2 separate regions of the Homo sapiens genome follow, and region 1 is linked to region 2. The links are contacts of gene promoters, found by promoter capture Hi-C in blood cells and fetal thymus (Javierre and others, 2016). All regions are on one chromosome and are shown on one strand. Each heading gives the region's core, a stretch centred on a gene start or on the middle of the fragment in contact. The rest is flanking DNA. Distances are from core to core; before and after follow the strand shown.

Evidence for each region. The method cuts DNA at HindIII sites, captures the fragments that hold promoters and counts their contacts. A CHiCAGO score of 5 or more calls a contact.
Region 1: a contact is called between a fragment that was not itself captured here and the fragment with the promoter of NIPA2 in region 2, in 3 of 17 cell types (fetal thymus, non-activated CD4 T cells and total CD4 T cells). The highest score is 11.9, in fetal thymus.

The regions. Positions count from the first base shown.
Region 1 is chr15:26,086,255-26,093,719 of GRCh38, forward strand. It overlaps LOC105370739 (a long non-coding RNA gene), which reads right to left. Exons shown (of 6, transcript XR_932005.3): 6 at 3,377-3,721. Among named protein-coding and RNA genes, the nearest start is that of TRE-TTC2-2, 7.7 kb to the left of the region's middle. The HindIII fragment of the contact is 2,017 bases long and covers 1,434-3,450 here.
Region 2 is chr15:22,835,511-22,842,590 of GRCh38, forward strand. NIPA2 (NIPA magnesium transporter 2) reads left to right here and starts at 3,156. Exons shown (of 8, transcript NM_030922.7): 1 at 3,156-3,411; 2 at 4,145-4,280. RefSeq lists an enhancer at 3,053-3,282. The HindIII fragment of the contact is 4,457 bases long and covers 968-5,424 here.

The sequences.
Region 1 (7,465 bases), core at 1,192-3,691, 3.3 Mb after region 2:
AAAGATATCGTGTGTTCTCTGTGTGTACATGTGTGCTTTCCTCTTCAGCTCTCTTTCTTTTGCTGGAATCTGGCAGTGCTTCTTGTCTTTATTGGTTATTTGATAACTGTTTAAGGCCTTGTGGTTTTTATCATCTTTAAGCCAATTAATCAGAGCTCTTTCATATGTAAACATCACATGTGCAACACATGTAAATACACAGAAAGACAAAAGAAGGTCCAGTAGTTGTAAGATTTTTCATTTGCCAGTTTTTAAGTTTCTTAAATGTATGTTTTCAAAAACCTTAAATTGAATGCAAGTTCCTTGGGTAAGAGTCATGTCTGCACTGGTTTTCTGCCCTGTCCGTGGAAAAGCATGGAGCGTAGTACACAGGTGAAATGCAACTACTTTTTTTTTTTTTCTTAAAGAAAGGGAGTCTCACAGTCTTGCACAGGCTGGAGTGCAACAATTTTTTTTGATAGGTTTATTTCCTTTTTAATGATAGTTAAGGTTGTAGAAATAATTTTTGGCAAGTCCAACTTTCTCAACTCATGTTAAATAAATGTGTCCAGTGGGGAAGGAAGATGATGACTACCCTTATTCTTGCTCTAACAAACACACAAAACAAAACAAAAATTGACATTGCTTCCAGAGAGTGTCTTTGGTGGTTCTCTAAGCCAAGCAAAACTTCTATTTTAAAAAGTAACTGTTTAATTATATTAGCTTAACCTCATGAAATTGTCAAGAATCCACTGGTTTTGACTTACTACAATGGAAATTTCATATCGTTCAACTTAATTCCTCTACCCCTAACTGTGAGTGTCAGATCTACCTATTATATTAACAGGGGAGACTAAATGGAAAGCTCACTGTTTAATTAAAATCTGAGGTTCTCCAACATCAATAAGAACAGCAATAACAACAAAAAATTGTACTTGCTTCCAAAATTACAGATACTTTGATTTTTAAAGTGAAAGAATATTTCAGGGGAAAGAGACATTTAACTGATGGCAATTAAAACATTTTATTTTGCATATTTTTACAAAAACATATGACTCTAAGAAGATATTCCGGGAGCTACTCCCAGGGCTTAGAAAAGGCCGGAACAACTGAGGTTCCCGGAAGCTTAAGCCTCATTAACTTTGTGAGACTTCACCTCCGGCTGAAAGGAAAGAGTTAAACATTCCTGTCAATGTTCTCCCTTAGGTCCTATTATCAGTGAGTGTGGGTCTTCACTGGGTCCCTCCAGAACTGTTGGATAGGCTTCCTCGCTGGTCTCTCATGCCCCAGGTTTGTCCTCTGTCTAATACGATTAGGCAAGTCCACAGTTTAAAACCCTTTAATGGCATTAATCATATCAGATCACGTTCAAATTCCTTAGCAATTCGGGAAGGTTATTAGCATCTGACTCATGCCCCAACCCACAGCCTCACTTCTCTGCTTCAGATCCTTGAAGCTTCTCCTAACACACCCAACTGCTTGAAAACATTTTTCTTTTGTCTGATTTGTTTCTTCCTAAAATCCTTTCTTTCCCCTATTTTATGCATGTTATTTGTCCATTTTTCTCTACCTAAGAAATGTGTACCTGTCAGCAAGACTCAGCTTGAATGTAACTTCATTATAGAAGCACTCCTAAATAAATGAATAGTTCAAAAAAGAAATCCTCCCGGAATTGACTTCTGTGCCATGGTGCCTCCATCCCCATCCCAAGAGGATTATTCTCATCATACCACTGATTAAAAAAAACTTCAGCTGAATTAAATGTAAAGGGGTTTAAGCAATGAATGATTCATGAATCAGGCAGCCTCCTGAGCCAGAGTAGACTCTGAGACTCCAGCACAGCCATGGGGTGGAAGAAGACTGATGGACAGAAAAAGGAAAGTGACACACAGAAAATGGAAGTGAGGTACAGAAAGAGCTGGATTGGGTACAGCTTGGTGTTTGCCTTATTTGAACAGTTTGAACAGTTGGCTACATTTGATTGGCCAAAACTCAGTGATTGGCACAAGTGTAGGCTGCGGTCTGTTTACACTTCCACTTGTTGTAGTTCACCATGTGCAGAGAAACCTTTAGGCTGAACTTAAAATATGTAAGGAGGCAGCTTTAGGCTAAACTTGATTTAACAATTTCACCCCAAATTAGAGAGATCAAAACTTTAGTCATTGATGTCACTGTAACCATTGTAAATATACTTATTTGGTCTTTAAACCCACTGGGAAATGGTAGAACAGTGGGTTTTGCAAGGTAGGAGCAAGGACTGAGTAGAAGGTACCTCCTTATGCTGGAACGTCCTGTTTACAGGAGAAAAACAAAACCTGATCTGTTCTAGGATCTGTGTGTTTCCTTAAAGTCTTAGTTTGATTACATCACATTTAACGTGAGTGACTCCATTTTGGTTTGGTCTGGTCCTTTTGGGGCCTAGTGCATGAGCTCAGTCCAAAACAATGGCCTCTCATAATTTTGTTTAAAAATTCCTCCTTTTGGGTCAGGTTCTCACTTAGGTGAAAGTGTGACCAAAACTAAGGGCTTTAGTGCCACTTTCAGTACCATCAGTTTGGGTTTCTGGTCTCAATGTGGTCATTCATAGGTTACGATGTCGTCATGGTCACACATTTCTTTCAGTTCTTGTCATTCCAGTTGAAGAAAGACCATTTGACATTTTAGAGATGGCTGCATGCAAACATTTAAAACTTTTGAGAGAATACAGCATACCAGGGAGACTACTATTATAACTATCAGGGGGATAATAGCAAGAGTTTGGAGTATCCTCCCTACCCAAGACCCCCATAAACCAAATCACCTAAAATTAAATAGATCAAAGAATGAGCTAAAGAGTCGACTTGCTTAATTAAGTGGTCTCTTTGCTAATCCTTTACAACTGAATCTCTGTAATCTACTTTTGATATATTTCTCTATAGGCCACAAGTGTCAACAGTGACACAGATAGTTTTCTGTTTAGCCAGTTCTATTATTTAGCATAATTTTCACAAGATAATTTAAAGTCTGCTGTGTAACCATGGCTTTTACAGTAGAATCTGCTATAGAGCCTATCATGAGGGAAACATTTCTCATCATTGCCTTTTTTACTCGAAACCATGGAAAAAAGGACCTAACAAATGATGCCCTTCTAGAAGAGTGAAGCTCTCCTGGTAATGTTCTCTTTAACCCATGATGTGGGTTAAGAGGAGTGAACCAATGCTCTGTTTCTGACTGATTACGAGGCAAAGTGTGTACCATTAAAGTTTCTGTTTCTCACCTACATCGGGCCTTCATCTTTCATCTGTCAAGATATAAGGTTATCCATGTATAAGGCTGGCTGCAAAATCCTTCATAACTAAAAGTATACCCCATGAGTGCACACAACAGACCCCTTTTCCACTTGTATTGTTCATACAGGCATAAGCAAGGGGAAAAGTATTCAAAGATAAGAGTCTCATGATAATAGAAGTCTTGATCTGTGATGTTGGGAAAAGCTTTTTGCATCAAGGATGCCATCTTCTTCTTAGGGAGAAACTTCCCTGGTTAGCTTTACCTTAAGGGTTCCAATGGGTGTACAGTTCAACAGTGTGGAGGGACCCTTCTCAGTTGTGAGATTATGAACCCAAGGCTCGAGGTCCTGAAGTTTTACTGCAGTGAGGATGGCTAAAGCAATCTTTCTCTGATGTCTCAGAGGATCCAATCTTCGGGTTCTAGATTGTGAAGGAGTTGATTGTCCTCAGTGAACCATAAAAAGTTTTTTTGCCTGTGACATAATTATTGTTATAACATCAGTCCTCTTGCATGGTAAAGCTTTCATACAACCAGAAAATATTCACTGAAAATGACAATTAAATGAAATCCCTCCATAAATGTTTAAATGACCCATTGGGTAGCCAAATGTACCTGAAGCTTTGATTGTCTTCCCAGGAGTATAGGTTTGAAAAACCAAACATTGGTCATAAACTATTTTAGCAATTTAGAATTCATGCCAATGTATATTTAATTTGGGTCATTTTATCTTTTCTGTGATGAGTCATGGAATGCAGAGCTTTTAATAAAATCTTTAAAGAGTCAGAAAGGACAAGGTGACTGTCCTGGTTCTCCATGAGTCCATGCTTAACATTGGACTTATGTCTTCTCGAATACCAGTTACTTCTCCAATTTAGATACATAATGCTGATAACTGATGGGTTAACATAGGTAATTTGACTTAGACCATGGAGTTCATTCAATTTGTATATCTAAACAATTTCAGTATTGGCTGATTTAGCGTGAAAATCTTGCAAAGTATTTTCTTGGTATTCAATTAATTTTTATTTTACTTGGGTTAGCAGTTTTGTAACCCAGTCAGTCTTTTCATTAAAGTTCCAGGAATTATTACCCAGTCCAAATGATATGATTTTAAAGTTACCAGAAACCTGTATACAAGAGTGATTTTCAGGGTCTTTTCCATCCTTTCATGAACCTCCCAAAAGACACCATATTCTAGGATTTGGTGTGCTTGTGAAGTTTTCAGAAACTGCATCAGCATTAAGCAATTAACTGTGGAAATGGCTTTAAATAGTCATAATTAAAGCCACACTTGACAAGGAAATTTGGTTATTTCTGTGGTCTAAAATAACTTAACATATTATGATTGATAGCATATACCAGACATATTCGAATTTTAGCAATCCCATACAATTTTGGAACATATATTAACATCATTCACTAAAATATAACATGAAGAATGTTAAACATTATTTTTTACTTTTACAGAGCTTCCCATGTAACTTAACATGTCAAATAATCCTGTTGACCTCTTTTAAAGTCTTCAGGGGCCCTCTGTAGCATGTCAAAGTTAGAGGTCAGAAGAGACGATTTTGAAGATGAAATTTGATTTTGGGAAGCCTGTGTAACCACCCAGTGGGTTCACCTTGCCCACTGCCTAGACAAAGCCAATTTATCAAGACAGGGGAATTGCAATCAAGAAAGCGTAATTCATGCAGAGCCAGCTGTGTGGGAGACCAGAGTTTTATTATTACTCAAGTCAGTCTTCCTGAGCATTCGGGGATCAGAATTTTTAAGACCAGCTTGGTGAGTCGGGGGAAGCCAGTGAACTGCAAATGCTGATTGGTCAGGTCCGAGGTGAAATCATAGGGAGTTGAAGCTGTCTTCTTGTGCTGGGTCATTTCCTGGGTGGGGACCACAAGACCAGATAAGCCAGTTTGTCAGTCTGGATGGTGTCAGCTGATCCATCAAGTGCAGGGGCTGCAAAATACCTCAAGCACTGATTTTAGGAGCAGTTTAGGGAGGGTCAGACTCTTGTAGCCTCAGCTGCATGACTCCTAAGCCATAATTTCTAATCTGTGGCTAATTTGCTAATTTGACTATAAGGGCAGTCTAGTCCCCAGGCAAGAAAGGGGTTTCTTTTGGGAAAGGACTGTTACCATGTTTGTTTTAAATTATAAACTATAAACAAAGTTTCTCCCAAAGATAGTTCAGCCTACACCCAGGAATGAACAAAGACAGCTTGGAGATTAGAAGCAAGATGGAGTCGGTTAGGTCAGATCTCTTTCACTATCTCAGTGACAATTTAGCAATGGCGGTTTCACCTATAAAATATGTTAACGGTTTGAAACACTTGATATTATGAAATAGAATTCTAGGTCACCATAAATCATTCATTTAGTCAAAATACTAACTCGAAACTTTTAAAAAGGCAAAAATCTTCACTTATTGATAGAAGGAAGACTTAGCTTTCCAAACCATCTGTCTCTTGTTTTTCCCTTCTTTATTCAGTAGTTTATTCAAAAGGCAAAGTAAAATCTTTCGTTATTGTTTACATGAAACAATTCGTTTTTACGAATTGTTTACATGAAACAATTGTTTATATGAAACAATTTCGTTATTGTTACATGAAAATCTTGTTGAAGAGAAAAAGCCAAGTTTCACCCTTGAATTAGGATACTATTAATGTCAACCCCAATCTTTAATAAAACCTTATAGACAAATCTATTTAATCTTAATCAGTTTGATCATAAGGTGAGATTCTCATAAACCCTTTATAACCCTTTACAAATTTTTGTTAAAGAGCAGATCAGTGCTCTAAGAAAACCCTGTTGAGCTTTTATTCCAATATGTAACTTATGGAAAAACTGAATAAAACCCCTTTAACTTTACTCAGTAAGTTCACACACAGAGTTACTTTTACAAGATTAACTTTTCACAAACCTTCCACAACTTGCTTAAACCTTCAGCTTTATCCTTATCTAACCTAAAACAATTCTTTAACCCTTTAATCTAGGCAAAAATATCCACATTCCCATGACTTCTTATGATCTTTTACTAAAAACACATTTCACTTTCTTTATACCCCCTGCATGTAAAACTGTTCCTTCAGTAGTCTCAATTATATGTTACAATGTTAACACTCAGCAACTTTTTTTTTTTTTTTTAATTATTTTTTTGGAGATGGAGTCTTGCTCTGTTACCCAGACTGGAGTGCAGTCACATGATCTTGGCTCACTGCAACCTCCACCTCCCAGGTTCAAGTGGTTCTCCTGCCTCAGCCTTTCGAGCAGCTGGGATTACAGGCACTCACACCACTCCTGGCTAAGTTTTGTATTTTTAGTAGAGACGGGGTTTCTCTGTGTTGGCCAGGCTGGTCTCAAACTCCTGACCTCAGGTGATCTGCCAGCCTCAGCCTCCCAAAGTGCTGGGATTATAGGCGTGAGCCACCGCACCCAGCCTCACTTAGCAAGTTTTATTTTTGGTGAAAAACCTGGTAAGTGAGCGATTCTGATTATGTACCAAGTCTGGAACCTAGAACACCAGACAGAAGTGCAGATAAAGTCTGACTCTTTCCAGCATAGCCAGGGGCATGGGTAACTCCACTTGTCCCCAGGCCTTATTTAGAATCTAATAGCTCTGAAGCAGTTCAGTCGAACACTTTTCAAAAGTCAAAGCAGTTTATGACCTTAAAGTATTTAGTAAACCTAATATCTGACTTGCCTAATTTAGACCAAATGTCTTTATTTTACCAATAACCTTTATAGCTGTTTCTATTTCCCAAAGATTACTGAAGTCATGTGAACTAAAAAGCATTACATTTTTTACTTTTCTGACAAAATATTTGATTTAAGCACTTATTATTTTTAAGCCAATTAATCAGAGCTCTTTCATATATAAACATCACATGTGCAATAATATAAATACACAGAAAGACAGAAGAAGATCCAGCAGTTGTAAGATTTTTCATTTGCCAGTTTTAAAGTTTCTTAATTGGATTACTGGCTTCATGGTGGAGTCCTTGGAGGAACAGGGCTAGGAAAACACGCAGTTATTTTTTAGGGTCTAATAAACAGGCACAGCTGGAAGGCAAAACAGATCCCCCAAAATACAGGGTTCTATTATCATACTGACTCCTGGATCCCCAAAAGAGAAATGCTGTGGAACAAGACAGTGCAATCATTTTCCTGTGCATTTGATTGCAAAGTAACCCAAAGCTGATCAGTCCATTCTGTGA
Region 2 (7,080 bases), core at 1,906-4,405:
TGTGCAGTGTCGGGGGAGGTGTCCGGTGGGAGGTCCAAATAATGACAGAAAGCTGATTAGATGAGGTGGAGCTCCAGCTGGCAGAAAGGAGTGACAAGCAAATTTGTTCGTTAGGTTAAATTAACATATCGACACCTAAGCATTCCTGTTCATGTGAACAAACCACTACTTTATTACTCATCTGCCTCCTAGAGCAGCAGTCCCCAACCCTTTTGGTACCAAGGACTGATTTCATAGAAGACAATTTTTCCACAGACGCTGGGGAAGGGGGGCGCGGGGAGGATGTTTTCGGGATGAAAGTGTCCCACCTCAGATCATCAGGCATTATTTAGATTCTCATAAGGAGCGTGCAACCTAGATCCCTCGCATGCACAATTCACAATAAGGTTCGCACTCTTGGGGACCTCTGTCCTAGAGGTATTTGTTGGCATCTGTATCAGTTAGTTATTGCTACATACCAATCTACCCCAAAATAAGTGGCTCAGACAATAGTAATTTATCCTTCCTCATGTGTTTATGGGTTAATGGGGCAGTTTTGGTCAGTGGCTGGTCTCAATGGTAGTCAGCCAGCATTTACCTAGGTGGATTTGCTGCTTGCCTTGCCCCATGTGGTCCCCTCCTCCAGCAGGCTAGTCCAGGCATCATAATTTAGTCTGGAACTGCCACATGTTCTTGGCCAAAGCCCAAGGCCAGTACAGATTCAGGAAATAGAGGGGAGCTGCAAAGTCACTGCAAAATGTGTGGGAAATTGGAGCCATTTTTCATCAATCTACCACATCACCTGAGACCAACTTGTCAACCGTCTTTCAATATTCAATGGAATTCCTTATCTGAGAGTGTCAACTAGCCAAAACATGGCTGAGACCAAAGAAAGTAATAGATCCTCTGAGCCAGTTCTGAGATGCAAGTAATAGGTCCTCTGAGCCAGTTTTAAGATGATTGCTAGGCTCACGGCAGATTAAAAGCTTTAAAATTAGAAGCTGCATAGTGACCTAAACCAAAACCAGAGTGGTCAGGGGCTGTGTATACAGTCTAGAACACAACAGTCCAATAGGATTAGAGCCTGAAAAGGACAAATGATATTTGGTGTTTTGTTTCAAAAAGTGCATAATTCATTTTATAAAGATCCTCCCCCCACATGATTTGAATTTCATATAATAGTGTTTTTGTGTCTAGTCACAACCTGGAACAACATTCCTAAGGGACTCTACACCTGCAACCAAGGAATCATTGATTTACTAGGAGATCTAACTCTAGCTGGCTACTCTTTGCTTCTTACAAATGAGCTCTGTCTTTGACTACTTTTGCAGAAACCACGTTGGTGGATCCCAAGGAATTTCTCCTTTCCAGGAGGAGCCAAGGCAGGATAGCCTAACAGTTAGTTTCCTATACATCTCATGAAAAATAAATCTGCGCTTTGGGAGGCTGAGGCGGGTGAATCACGAGGTCAAGAGATCGAGACCATCCTGGCCAACATGGTGAAACCCTGTCTCTAATAAAAATGCAAAAATTGGCTGGGTGTGGTGGCTCACACCTGTAATCCCAGCACTTTGGGAGGCCGAGGCGGGCGGATCACGAGGTCAGGAGTTCGAAACCAGCCTGGCCAACATGGTGAAACCCCATCTCTACTAAAAATACAAAAATTAGCTGGGCGTGGTGGTGTGCACCTGTAATCCCAGCTACTGGGGAGGCTGAGGCAGGAGAATGGCTTCATTGAACCCAGGAGGCAGAGGTTGCAGTGAGCCGAGATCGTGTCACTGCGCTCCAGCCTGGGTGACAAGAAAGACTCCGTCTTAAAAAAAAAAAAAAATTAGCCGGGCGTGGCGGCGCGCGCCTACAGTCCCAGCTATTCGGGAGGCTGAGGCAGGAGAATCGCTTGAACCGGGGAGGCGGAGTTTGCAGTGAGCCGAGATCGTGCCACTGCACTCCAGTCTGGCGACAGAGCGAGACTCTGTCTCAAAATCAATCATTCAATCAATCTGCTCTCAGTGTCTCGAGGCGGGCTTTCACCAAACGTCAACCTCACATCTATTCCGCGACCGGGTCAGTAAGGAAGGGCCCAGCGGTCGTCGAACTACCACAGCTATTTCGGCCCCGCCCCGTCCCGCCCCCAGCTTTGGACCCACCCTTTCCCCCGCTTCTTGCCCTCTTGGGAGCTCTGTTCCCCTTTGGCATCGCCCGGGGACACCAATTAAATGCAGCTTCACACTGTGACTGCCCCTGGGAACCCTCATTTTATTTTATTTATTTATTTATTTTTGAGAAGGAGTCTCGCTCTGTCGCCCAGGTGGAGTGCAGTGGCTGATCTCGGCTCACTGCAACCTCCGCCTCCCGAGTTCAAGCGATTCCCCTGCCTCAGCCTCTGGAGTAGCTGAGATTACTGGCGCGCACCAACACGTCCAGCTAATTTTTGTATTTTTAGTAGAGATGCGGTTTCCCCATGTTGGTCACGTTGGTCTCGAACTCCTGACCTCGTGATCTGCCCGCCTCGGCCTCCCAAAGTGCTGTGATTACAGGTGTGAGCCACCGCGCCCGGCCGGAACCCTCATTTATTCTATTTTTTTTTGAGACGGAGTCTCGCTCTGTCGCCCAGGCTGGAGTGCAGTGGCGGGATCTCCGATCACTGCAAGCTCCGCCTCCCGGGTTCGCGCCCTTCTCCTGCCTCAGTGTCCCGAGTAGCTGGGACTACAAGCACCCGCCACCACGCCCGGCTAATTTTTTGTATTTTTAGTAGGGGCGGGGTTTCACCGTGTTAGCCAGGATGGTCTCGATCTGCTGACCTCGGGATCCGCCCGCCTTGGTCTCCCAAAGTGCTGGGATTACAGGCGTGAGCCACAGCGCCGGGCCCGGAATCCTCGTTTTAAATAAGGGCCACGCCGGAGTTTGATTTTGAACTGATCGGCCAACGCCACCTGGCAGCATACTGTACTGCTTAACTACGCTTCCAGCTTCGTCCCTCGCCAGGTCCCGCCTGGATCCTGCGCCCCGCCCCCGTCCCCACACTCTACGCGCCCCGCCCTCCGCGCTCAGCCGACTGGGGCCTTGTAAAGGAACCGGAACCCGGCGGGAGAGAGCCCCGGGGGCGGGGTGTACGTGGTGCGGCACTGCGCGTGCGCGCGAGGCCTCTTGCGTCATTTAGCCGCGCCTAGGTTTTCCGGCGCCGGCCCTAGGTCCCGGCAGCGGTGGTGACGGCGGTGCCGGAGGTTGTCCTTGGCAGGTTTTCCTCGGCGCTTCTCCATGGAGGAGGCGGTGCGAACGGCTTCAGCCCCGAATGCTCGCATCTCCCACTGGACGGCGACGAAGGCGGTGGCCGTGCGAGCGCAGGACTGGGCGGCCTGTGTGGGGGTGTGAGCCGCGGTGCCCAAGGCTGCGCCGGCGAGGGGAAGCCGCGCGGCCGGCCGGCCGACTAGGGTGAGGTCGCCACTCCTTCCTTTCAGGCAAGCGCGAAGGGGCTGACTTGGTGGCGAGCCAGCCCGCCTTGTGTCGGAGAAGGGTTCTTCGGGCAACTTTCCTTTCCGGGTGTTCTGAAGCGGTTTTCCTGTAATCCTCAGTGAGGAAACCCACCGTGAATCGGATTGCCGTTCAGTCCCACGGAAGCCTGGCTCGTTGGCCATGTCGGGGACGCATGTTCATTAAGTTCATTAAAATAATTTCATTTGTCTTGGTGAGTTTTAGAAGGTGGCTTCAGCTGCTGCGGGGATCATAACTGACAGTTAAACAAGCCTTAGAAGTCTGCTGTGACGTTTTGAGCCTGACTGTTTTAATTTCCTTTTATAAAATCACGGAATCCTATTTCCCTCTCTATACAATTGCTCAAAACTGTGTGTTTAGTTTGGTGTTTGTGCCTCCTTAATTTCTTTTCTAGGTTGTTAGTTCATTTAATACAGGACTGCATGTTAAGTTCTGTTTCTAGAAATCCTGTGTATAGCCATGTGCCCGGTTAATACTTTTTTTAGTAAGAGGAAATATCAGAGTCGAGAGTTTCCATTCCAGTAAGCTGCCTGTCGAAGCAGTAGTTGTGCTCGATTGAGTAGGTTTTATGTTGATTGGTTGGCAAAATGAGTATGAAGGCTAGTAACCAAATTATAAAACGTACTTAGTAACTTTAAGTCTTTTGCCTACTTCTGTGTTTTCTTCTTTCTAGGCTGGAGCTACTCGGCCAGGGTTTAAGACTTTAAATGAGAATAAAGGGTGGTATTTACGAGGAAATGAGAGTGAATAAGTCATCTCTAACCTCTCCCAGCCTTTTTTTCATAAGAGAGACCATATTAAACTTACATGTAAGTTAAAATTGTAATTTATAACTAATATTGTTGCATAGTTAGGGTTGGAGATTTAGGTTCTGTAATATTTATAAGTACAGTACTGCTTTGAAAAATTATTAGCCAAGTGAGAGGTTGGAAAAAATTAAATCTAACATGTATTTAATTTTTCTGAGCCAAGGTCTTGCTCTGTCCCCAGGCTAGACGGTGCAATCTGGGCTCACTGCAACTTCCGCCTCCCGGGCTCAAGTGCTCCTCCCACCTCAGCCTCCCCAGCAGCTGGGACCACAGACGTGCGGCACCATGCCTGGCTAATTTTTGTATTTTTTTTAGAACCGGGGTTTCACCATGTTACACCGGCTGGTCTCCTAATTCTGGACTTAAGCGATCCAACCACCTTGGCCTCCAAAGTGCGGGGATTACAGGTGTGAGCCACCGAGCCGGGCCTAAGCTAACTTAGATAGCAGTGGAAACCAGGTAGTAAAGATTTCGTAGAAAACTAAGAGCTCTATATATAGTTTTTTTTTTTGTTTTTTTTTTTTTGAGATGGAATCTTGCTCTGTCACTCGGGCTGGAGTGCAGTGGCACGATCTCTGCTCACTGCAACCTCCGCCTCCTGGGTTCAAGCGGTTCTCCTGCCTCAGCCTCCGGAGTAGCTGGGGTTACAGGCGCCGGCGACCACGCCCAGCTAATTTTTGTATTTTTAGTAGAGACGGGGGTTTCACCTTGTTGGCCAGGCTGGTCTCTTAACTCCTGACCTCAGGTGATCCGCCCGCCTCGACCCCCCAAAGTGCTGGGATTACAGGCGTGAGCCACCGCGCCCGACCTAAGAGCTCTAAAGTGTTAATGTAATGTGGGCAGCCGGGTGTAGAAGTAAAGTCCCTTTCTGTGTGGTCCTCTGCATGTGACTCTTTTTTACCCCTGGGAGGTTTCCTTAGCTGTAAAGTGATACCTTCATCTTATTGCGTAGAAGAGAAATGAGTAGAAATGATGCATGGAATAGTGCCTGGGGAGGTGTTCAGTAAGTGGTAGCTATTGTTAGGGAGAGATAATAAAAAGAATTTCACATATTTTCAGAATGTTTTTAATAGGTAAATATGGTTTACTCATATTTAAAACACATGACTTTGAATATTACATTTTTTTATAGATGGTGTAAGCTTCATTTAAACTGATTTATTTGATTGCTATACATTGTGATATTGAACAGAAAGATAAGACTTCTGCAGAGAATAAAAGGTGGGGTGGGGGTGGGAGAGGAAATGGGAGATTTAGGTCACAGGATACAAAGTAGCAGATATTCAGGATGTACAACTTGAGAACTACAGCTAATGAAATTGTATTAGAGATTTTCCTTCAATGAGTAGATTTTAGCTGCTTTTGTCATAAAAAAGTAACTACATGAGATGATAGATATGTTGATTTGCTCTACTGTGGTAACTGTGTTAGTATCTGTATGTTTCCCATAACATAAATCTCAAATATACACAATTTGCAAAGATTTATCTGTGTTGTAGAATTAAATACACCCCTCAGACTAGATTAGAGCATCCTTAAACATTTCTGCATATCTATTTGTTTTATGTAAATGAAGTTGAAACAGAACTACTTAAATAGTTCTGTAATGGCTCCAGATGAAAATAAATTATGATCTGGCCAAATAAATGGGTTGCAGATCTGTTCCTTGCCTTTTGGGTTTGTGTATGGCCCATAGGGCCCCACGTGATCTGACACTCACCTTTTTTTTTCTTCTGAGATGCAGTTTTGCTCTTGTTGCCCAGGCTAGAGTGCAGCTGTGCGATCTCGGCTCACTGCAACCTCCGCCCTCCAGTTTCTAGCGATTCTCCTGCCTCAGCCTCCCGAGTAGCTGGGATTACAGGCGCCCGCCACCATGCCTGGCTGATTTTTGTATTTTTAGTAGAGTCGGGGTTTCACCATGTTGGTCAGGCTGGTCTCGAACTCCTGACCTCATGATCCACCCGCCTCGACCTCCCAAAGTGCTGGGATTATAGGCGTGAGCCACCGCGCCCGGCCGGACACTCGCTTTTTCACGCTAATGTATCTCACCTGCCCTCACTCAAGGTCAGCCACAGTGGCCTTTGTTTAGGAAACTGCACACCCGCTCATACCTCAGAGCCCCTGCACTTGCTTCTCTCTCCTTTGTTCTTTTCAAAAAGCTCTTTGAAGCTTCTACTCAAGTGTTACTGCTCAGCAAGGCCTCCTAACTATGGTCATTAGAATCCCCCAACTCAACTCCCCAGTGCCCTTCACATGTTTTATTTTTTACCATAACATTTGCCACTTTTCCAGAATAATGTCTTTATTTCGTTTATTATTTCGCCCTACCTCTAGCAGGAGATAACCCCATGTGGGCTGTTGTACCCCTGCTCCTAGAATATTGTACATGCTCAGTAAACGTTGGTTGGTTGAGTAAATGATATAAGCAAGCCACATGTTCACTGGGAGCCACAGTGAAGGCAATACTAGTTAAGTACCAAAGTAACCGTAACAGAGGGGTAGTTAGTGTCAACCAAATATGGAGGAGGAAAGGTAGGAGCAGGTTAGAATAGCAGCAGAGTGCTGACCGGGGTAGAACACAGGATGTGTGAAATATGGTATGGGGAAATAAGATCTAGGCTGGGCGCGGTGGCTTACGCCTGTAATCCCAGCACTTTGGGAGGCTGAGGTGGGTGGATCACAAGGTCAGGAGATCGAGACCATCCTGGCTAACATGGTGAAACCCCATCTCTACTAAAAAAAAAACCCAAAATATTGGCCGGGCACGGTAACTCACGCCTGTAATCCCAGCACTTTGGGA